Linked DNA regions of Homo sapiens: region 1 is linked to region 2. Evidence: promoter capture Hi-C in 16 types of primary human blood cells and fetal thymus (Javierre and others, 2016). All regions are on one chromosome and are shown on one strand. The core of a region is centred on a gene start or on the middle of the fragment in contact, and the rest is flanking DNA. Distances in the headings are between cores, read along the strand shown.

The links. Contacts are between HindIII fragments. The CHiCAGO score rates a contact against its expected background, and 5 or more counts as called.
Region 1: a contact is called between a fragment that was not itself captured here and the fragment with the promoter of ALKBH3-AS1 in region 2, in 1 of 17 cell types (endothelial precursors). The highest score is 5.2, in endothelial precursors.

Annotation. Positions count from the first base shown.
Region 1 is chr11:44,061,229-44,065,826 of GRCh38, reverse strand. No RefSeq gene overlaps it. Among named protein-coding and RNA genes, the nearest start is that of ACCS, 2.7 kb to the left of the region's middle. The HindIII fragment of the contact is 1,793 bases long and covers 354-2,146 here.
Region 2 is chr11:43,918,771-43,923,245 of GRCh38, reverse strand. It overlaps ALKBH3-AS1 (ALKBH3 antisense RNA 1), which reads left to right and starts at 2,302. Exons shown (of 6, transcript NR_038907.1): 1 at 2,302-2,372; 2 at 2,782-2,860; 3 at 3,584-3,660. It overlaps ALKBH3 (alkB homolog 3, alpha-ketoglutarate dependent dioxygenase), which reads right to left. Exons shown (of 10, transcript NM_139178.4): 9 at 4,110-4,208; 10 at 2,972-3,328. The coding sequence ends at 3,236. It also overlaps a transcript of ACCSL not described here. RefSeq lists an enhancer at 1,821-3,020. The HindIII fragment of the contact is 1,418 bases long and covers 1,798-3,215 here.

The DNA of each region.
Region 1 (4,598 bases), core at 1-2,500, 140 kb before region 2:
CCTTTCATCGCAGTTTGTCATTTCTGCCCCTTTCATTTGTAGGGGATTTTCTGTAGCCCTCATAGGTTCTTAGTTGGGGGAGACTCCTGTTACAAAAGACAAATTAACAAGAGAAAAACAGACAGAAATTTACTGACATGTGTATTTCATTTATACATGAGAAATCTGGAGGGAATGAGTCGTTCTGGAAGAGGTGACTTTGAATTCCAGTTTTTATAGCATCTTCAACAAAGAACAGTAATTTTTTTAAGTTACAAGACAAAGAAATAGGGCTTTGAGTCTCTCCAGGAGGCAACTTGTGAGAAGGCAAAAAAAAAAAAAAAAAAAAAAGACAAAGGCCAGTTAGTCAAGCTTGTTAATGTAAATTCCTCTGGTACCATCTCCAGGCCATAGGGGTCTAAAGTTGTCTTTGTTCTCCTAGGTAGACAGAGGGACAGGATACCTTTTGTCTTTGTAAACCTGTGTCCTACTTTTAGGCAAATAGGGCCAGGGTAGAGAGCTTTCCTGAATGTGCTGCTGCTTGTCTTTAGCACAATCCTTCATGTTTTGGGGAGGCATGTCCTGGTCTCCCACACGTGCCTGCAATATTTGTTGAACTCTGGCTAGGTGTGGCGGCCCACGCCTGTAATGCCAACACTTTGAGAGGACAAGGTGGGAGCATCCCTTGAACCCAGGAGTTTGAAACCAGCCTGGGCAACATAGAGAGACCGTGTCTCTACCAAAAAAAGGTTTTTATGTTTTTTTGTTTTTTTGAGACGGAGTCTCGCTCTGTCATCCAGGCTGGAGTGCAGTGGCACAATCTCTGCTCACTGCAACCTCCGCCTCCCGGGTTCAAGCAATTCTTTTGTCTCAGCCTCCCCAGTAGCTGGGACTACAGGCACGCACCACCACGCCTGGCTAATTTTTGTATTTTTAGTAGAGATGGAGTTTCACCATATTGTCCCGACTGGTCTTGAACTCCTGACCTCGTGATCTGCCCGCCTCGGCCTCCCAAGTGCTGGGATGGCAGGCGTGAGCCACTGCACTCAGCCAAAATGTTTTTGTAAATTAGCCAGACTTGATGACATGTGCCTGTGGTTTCAGCTACTTGGGAGGCTGAGGTGGGAGGATCACTTGAGCCCAGAAGGTAGAGGCTGCAGTGAATTTGATCGTGCCACTGCACTCCCACCTGGGTGTTTGCGAGACTCTATCTAAAAAAAAAAAAAAAAAAAAAAAAAAATTACATACACACACACACACACACACACACACACACACACACATATAATTTCAAAAGTATTTTTCAAACTCTGCCCTAAGCTCTACATATTCTGGCAATGGGTACAGTGGGCACCCAGGTCCCAGGTAGAGCTGCAGTCTCTGAGGTGCCTTGAATGGGAAAGTCTTCTTTCCCCATGAAAGGAAATAAGCAGAATCTCTCAATACAGGTATGGCTGGGAAGACATGGCTGTCTTCTGGCCATTCCACTTCTTGTCTTCACTTTTGCCTTGCACTAGCTAACACTGTGACCTTGAGCAACTCTCATGACTTTTTTGGCCCTTACTGTTTTCTTCTGTAAGATAAGGAAGCGATTATTTTCCTCTATTTAAATCTTAATTCTATGTAATTCACATCTCAGTGAATGCCTGTTATGTGCCAGGTCTCTGTAAAATGCGAGGATACGGTGATGAGCAAGACAAACCAAAGCCTGCATGATTGATTGGGAAGGCCGACTTACAATGTGGGGACTATTTTAAAAAGACTATTTACTGGGTACCATGGAAACATGCAGCAGGGGGATTTAACCCCACGAAACAACAAACACAGGCACTTGTCCTAAGTGGAAGACATACACACACGTTACATTAAATGTGAATTGACTAAAGATCAATTAAAAGATCATCAGACTGGATAAAACAGCAAGAATCAAGCATATGGTGTGTGCAGGAGACACACTTTAAATACAAAAACAAATGGTCAAAGGTAAAAATGTGAAAAAAAACAAGCAAATAATAATCATGAAAAAAGCTGATGTGTTCATATTGGTATCTGATAGTAGGCTTCAAGACAAAAATAATTAACAAAAATAAAATGGGGCATTTTAGAATAAAATGATTAATTTATCAGGGTGACAATCTTAAAAGTTTATGCTCGTAATAACAAAGCTTCAAAATACATGAAGCAGAAACTGACAGAACGAAAAAGAGAAAAGACAAGTTCATAATAATTGGAAAATTTTATACCACTCTCTCGGTGATAGAACAAATGGATCAAAAGACACTAAGGATCAGAACTTTTGGACATTATACAAAAATTTAATCTAATTGACATTTATAGAACACCATCCCCAATACCACAGAATATACTTCTTTTCAAGTGCAAATGAAACATTAAGATAGACCACATGTTGTAAACAAATCTGGCCATAAACTGTCTTAATAAGTTTCAAAGGATTGAAACCATAGAGTACATTCTCTAGTCACAATGAAATTAAAGTAGAAATCATTAACAAAGAAAGCTGAACAGTCCCCAAATATTTGGAAACTAAGTTACATATGCTAAGCAAACCATTGATTTAAAAAAAGAAATCACAAGGGAAATTAGAAAATATTTTGAATGATTAAAAACCAGCAGATCAAAGTTTATGGAATGTAGCTAAAATAATGCTAAGTGAGAAATGAATAGCTTGTAATGCATATATTTGAAACCAACTTAAAACAAATGATCTAAGCTTCCACATTAATAAGCTAGAAAAAAGAGCAAATTAAACCCAAAGTAAATAGAAAGAAATAAAGATAAGAGCAGAAATGAAGGCGAAACGAGAAAAATCAATGAAACTGAAAGTTGGTTCTTTGAAAAGTTCAATACAGTTGATAAACAGTTAGATTGACTGATCAAAAAAACTCATTTTGTTGCAGAATTTTGCTCCTTAGTTCAGCTAAAACCGGGTTCTTGTCACACCACCAGGAAGGATTAGGAACATGGACACATTGAAGGGTGAGGGGAACGGAATTTACTGGGCAAAAAGGAAAAAAGAAAAATACTGTCAGCAGAGCAAGAGGGGGTCCTGCTAACAGGCCTCCAAACTCACATTGAATCCCAGGCCACCACACAGAAATTGAAGAGGCCAGGCTCCTCCCCGCTGAGCATGGCCACAGCTTCCCTTGGCTCCATCTTGTTCTCCCAGTGCACAGATGGGTTGGAGATTCTCCGGAGACCCTCCCCGTAATCCCCCTCCTGCATGTATCAATTTCAGTATCAGGAAAGGAAAAGGAGATACAACTAAAGATCCTAAATGTATTAAAAGGATAACAGAATATTTATAACCAATTTTAAGTCAATAATTAAACTTAGATGAAATAGACAAACTTTATTGAAAGGCACAAATAACCAAATCTGATACAAGAAATAGAAAACTCGAACTGTCACAGAAATTGAATTTATAAGTAAAAGCCGTCCCACAAAAAAAAAAAAAGAAGAAAAAAAAAACCTCCAGGCCCTTATGGTTTTACAGCTGAATTCAACCAAATATTTAAAGGTTGAAGAAGTTTTTGGACACAAACTTCTAGAAAATTCAGGAAGGAACAGTTTCCCAAACATCTATGAAACCAGTATTAATCATGATACTGAAACTAACAATGCATTACAAAAAAAAAAATTATAGAATGATGTCCTTCTTGAATGTAAACTTCTTAAAATAGCAAACCAAACTCAATGGTATATAAAAGGACAATGCATCATGACCAAATGGGGTTTATTGCAGCAATGTGAAGTTGCTTTAACATTAAGAAATCAATGTAACTTACTACATTGATAATCAAGAGAAAAATCATATCTCTATAAATGCAGATGAAAAACATCTAACAACATTGAACCCTCATACATGGTAAAACTCCCAGCAAACTAGTAATAGAAGGACTCTTTATTAGATAAGGGACAGAATGAAAAATACAGTAACGTTATACTCAAGAGCAGAAGATTGCACTCAATGCTACTAAGACTGAGAACAAGGCAGGCTGTCCTCTCAACCACTTTTATTCAACGTTATACTAGAGGTTTTTTAAAAAGAGCTATATCGGTCAGGAGCGGTGGCTCAGCTTGTAATCCCAGCACTTTGGGAGGCCGAGGCAGGCGGATCACTTGAGGTCAGGCGTTTGAGACAAGCCTGGCCAACATGGTAAAACCCTGTCTCTACTAAAGATATAAAAATTAGCTGGGCGAGGTGGCACGTGCCTGTAGTCCCAGCTGCTTGGGAGGCAGAGGCAGGAGAATCGCTGAACCAGCAGCAGAGGTTGCAGTGAGCCGAGATTGTGACACTGCACTCCAACCTGGGCGACAGAGTGAGACTCAGTCTCACAACAACAACAACAACAACAACAAAAACACACACATACACACACACACACAAGAAAACTGACAAGAATAAACAAATTTGGATTCGGAGCAAGTACGGCCACAAACCCAAGCGACTAAAGCCACCAGTTGGTACTGTGAGCTCTTTCTTCATCCATAAAATCGTAGTAGTCCCTTCTCTGCCCACTTCACAGTATCAGTGCTCTGACATGCAAGGGCTTTGCAGAGAAACTGATGGGTGGCTTAATTTGAACAGCTGAAAACAT
Region 2 (4,475 bases), core at 1,053-3,552:
AACCCGTCGTTTGTCAAGACTTTCTCTGAAACCCTCCAACTGGAGCATTCAGCGCACTGCAGGGCCTACTTAACTCTTTCAGCATTGCAATGACACAATTCAGGAGACGGCTCTATAGTGACTGTGTCCAGACAGACCTGCCACGCACTAGGGCAGGATCACATCAGCCACAGAGGCAGAGAGTGGGTGCCACAAGGAAAGGGCAGGTTTATTAGCTGTGACTCAAACTTATCAGGAATTGTCAATGCCACCCGAGCTAGTGGGTTAATGATGGATCAATGTGGATCCTGATTTCAACACTGGGGATGCAATCTGGTGCTAAGTGTGTGTTCCAACCCATGTTTGAAGCAAGTTGCCTGTTATAAAGAAGACATTTTTAGTGTGGAGCCTGATGTTTCTTTGGGCTGCTGACTGGAGTAATGGTGTTGGTAAGTATTGTGAAAAAGCCTGCTATGAGTTTGGGTGTCATTCAGGGTCCCCAAGTGTATTCACAGGTAAGAATGAGGTGAGAAAGGACCACCGGGGAAAACTTATCTGTCTCTAAAAGTTTCATATCTCTGAAGGTGGATATGGTCAGGAAACACTTGCCAGAAAATCAAGGAAAGTTGGCTGAGAATTTGTCTAACTCACCAGAAGTTGGATTCTGTCCCCTCAAAAGGAGCTTCCCCAATGAAATGGGCAACTGCTAGTCCAGTCACCAGCAGTTTCTGGCTAGAGGATGCTGATGCTGATTAAGGAAAGATGAGATGCAGATGCCTGCCCTGATGAACAGGAAAGTCAGGGAACAAACAGGTGGCCTGTGGTCAGCTGTGACCAGCTCCACAGGAGCCAGCCCTGAGGCTCAGGCTCCCGGGAGTGCTCAGCAGACCATTTCGCCTACATTCAGCATGGCAAAGGGAAACCAAACAGGCCGAGAAACTAGCCTGCAGTCTGCAATCTGGTTCTGCCACTACAAGCCCTGTTAACTTACCTAACGTCTTGGAGATCAGTTTCCTAGCCTCTACAATGGGAATAGGACCTCTCTCTTGCAGCGCTGTGGGAAGGATAAGGGATTATGTATAAAAGCTCCTAGGACAGTGCCTGCTGAAGCTCAGAAGAAGGGCAGCAAAAACAAAACCGAAACCTGTTTTTCTTCATGCTACCGCTGTTATATTTGCTTCCTCAGCTTTACACGCGATGTAAGCAAAAACAGCTTCACCTCTAATTCCTAGTTCAGATCTAGCACCAGCAAAACAAAGCAACAGGCTGCTGCAGTCACTGAGGCACACTGCCCTTTGCCATGGTCTGGAATTCCTGTCCATGCCTACACCCTGTAGTTTTACTCTATGGCAAGTACCTACTTGCCATTTCAGAAGGGACATTATCTTAATGGTAAAGAAAAGGGCAGTTCTGGCATGTGGTATCTGGAGTGACAGCAAGAAAAACAAAACTGAAGATTTGCTGCTCTCAGACCAAGAAACCCAGGTGGTGGCCCACTCCATCTGCTGTAGAGTAGAAATGTTTCCCTGGAAGACATGGGTGTGACAAGTGAAGAGATCAAATGCACAGCTGCCACACGGGGAGATCATGACCCTCCATTAAGAAAGAGGGACGCTGGAAGACTTGGAACCATCTGCCAGTTCTTTCATTAGTAAGGAATGGAAGATAAATTTCCTAGTGTCATGCATCAAACTGATCACCAAAGCTGGCTGTATCACCTGGCCAGGTATTATTTGCATTAATAGGAGAACAGCTAAGCATTGAAAAGAGGCTTTATTTTATTCCTATGGTGATTTGAACCTCCCTCACAGGAAAGCTTGGTGTGGTGCTCAAATTTTAGAAAGTATTTCATATTTCTTAGAGAAACAAGCCGTGCTCATTTTTTGTTTGTTTGTTTTTTGTTTTTTAAAAGGGCAGGGGGACTACAATGCCAGGAGCCAGAGAGCTTGTCAGAGAACAGCCTGGCCAGGCATGGTGCTCCATCTGAGTGCCGAGTCAGAGCATGCCCAGCCTTTGGCATTTTCCTATGATCATGGACAGCATCAATCTTACAGCCTGGAATGGAAACAGGATAAAAAGCAAGAAGGCACTGTACCTTTCCCCCACTGGCAGACAGAGAAACTCTAACTCTCCCGCCCTATTTTCATCCATTTAAATTCATTTCCTTTCTCTCAGGTTTTCTGTATCTTGGTTTGGAATGAATCTGGTACACGGCTCCTGAGTCAAGAGGTCAAGAAGACACGTGGTTTTATGATGCAACAATGGGCAGCCACTCTGTTTTGTTTTGGGAACCTCAGTGACATCACAGACTAACCCTTGTACCTTGGGACCTTGTATGTAAGAAAACATTGAGTCAGAAGAGAGCGTTAGTCATAGGGCTACTGAAACACAAGGTGACGAGAACTATTAGGCAATTGAGTGCATTCCCTGCAGGGCTGCTCCCACTTCTATCTGACTTGGGTCTAGATGACTCAAGTGATTCCCGAGGGGAAAATAATCTATGTGGAACAGCTGTCATGAGCAGGCCTTCTGCTGCTCTTCAGCCTCAATTTCAGCCTGCTACTTCCCGTGACATCATTCAGTGATTCCTCCCTTTAAGGGGACAGTTTTCTCTTGTATTACAGGTGACTACTTGAAGGTGGCTAGACGAGAGCATACTGCCACCACTCTTTATTTGGAGGCCTGTAACCTGTCTTGAGTGTGTTGCAGGAAGACTCAGTTACAGTGTTCCCTGAATATGTAGCTTTCCATTACAATAGTATGCAAGCCAAGATGAAACCACCTCTGTTTGGGTTTCAGCAGCTGTCTGCCTACGGAAGGCTCCAGAGTCCCTGACGCATATTTATATCTCCACTTCACTGAAGTCACAAGGAACAAACACGTGAGATTTTCTTTTCCCCAGAGGCACAAGTCCATTGATATTTCTTCAAATGAAGGCGGGGCGTGTGGGGGGCGGGGGAGGGCAGGAGGAAAACTGCTTAGAACAAAATCATCCATGAGCACTGCCACATAGATTTTAATTTGCCTAAAGATGATAGCGATTTTGAGCTGTGGTTAGGGATAACTGTTCCCACAGTAGACCTATTACCAACATGAGTTGCTGGCTTTCATTTAATAGGACTCCAAGCTGGCAAACAAACCCCACCATCTTCCCAACAGCCACATCATGAGATCTAGCAGCACCAGCCTCTTGAAGTGGCTTCTCAGTGGAAGGTTTGCTCCGTTTCAGTGAAGCTTCTCTCTCAAAGCTCTGACGTCACCAGGGTGCCCCTCGAGGGTCTGGATAGACTGTCCGAAAGGTCAGGTTCACTCTCGGTTCTCTAGAGTGGTATTCTTTGGGCACTCGATGCTAAATGGAAATACACATAACTCTGACATAAATACACACATACACACTTTTAGTTCAAAGCGACTTAAAACTTATTCATGAGAATGCAGAAATATTTCCATCTCATCCCCCTTAAATGAGTAGTAAGCTCTTTGAAGTCTTGTGGAGAAAGGTCCCTTCTTTGAAACAAATTTCCATCCCCAGCCCCACTGTGCTATGCCAGCACCTCTGAAGTGAGATATTTTCATCTTTTCTAATTGTTGCTGTTCCTCTCAGACACCTGCCATTTCCCAAATCTCATAAAACATATAAATGGATGAGACCAAAGAGAGGCATGAGATTCCATTCTTATGGTAAGTGTTTTGACATTAACATGTGCACCTTAGAAATGATCTGGCCTAAAAATGGCATGGCCTAGCTGCAGAGCTGTGTATTCCAATAAGATAGTCACTAGCTACCCTGAAGCTATTTAAATTTAAGTTAATTAAAATTAAATTAAAAACTCAGTTCTTTATAGCATGCAAGCCACATTTTAAGAAGTCAGTCATATGTGGCTAGTGACTACTACAATAGGCAGCACAGATACTGAACACTTTCATCATCACAGAAAGTTCTACCGGACACACTAGTGTCCACCTGGATTGTCAGTAGTAGCAAAACTCCTTGGAAAGAATGTCAGCTCATTCCCTCTTGCTCGTTGTAAAAGCAGCTTGCTTTTCACCATGTCTACTTAGAAATAGTCCTCAGAGTCAGGAAACTGCCTCCACATGAAAGCAGATTCATATTACTTGCAGATCCTCACCTGCCAGTCAGCTTGTGTCGCTCCTTCCATGATTAACAAGGTCCCATGATCCAAGGGTATCTTCACTCTTTCCACATATGTGTAGTCTCCATTCTCTTCCTAGAAAACAGCATTTGTTGTAATAAATGTTTTGCCTGTGTAATCAAGATGCAACAGAACCTGACAGAGGTCAAAAAAAAATGGAAACCTCTGCTCAGCCAGACTGTGGGAATCCATATATAGCTCTGTCATTTGGCAGCTGCTTGACTGTTGGCAAGTTACCTCATCTCTCTGTACCCTGACTTACTCATTTGTAAAATGGGGAGGATGACAGTGACTGCCACCTAGGGCTATGGTGAGCCTCCATTGATAGAATATGTGTAAATC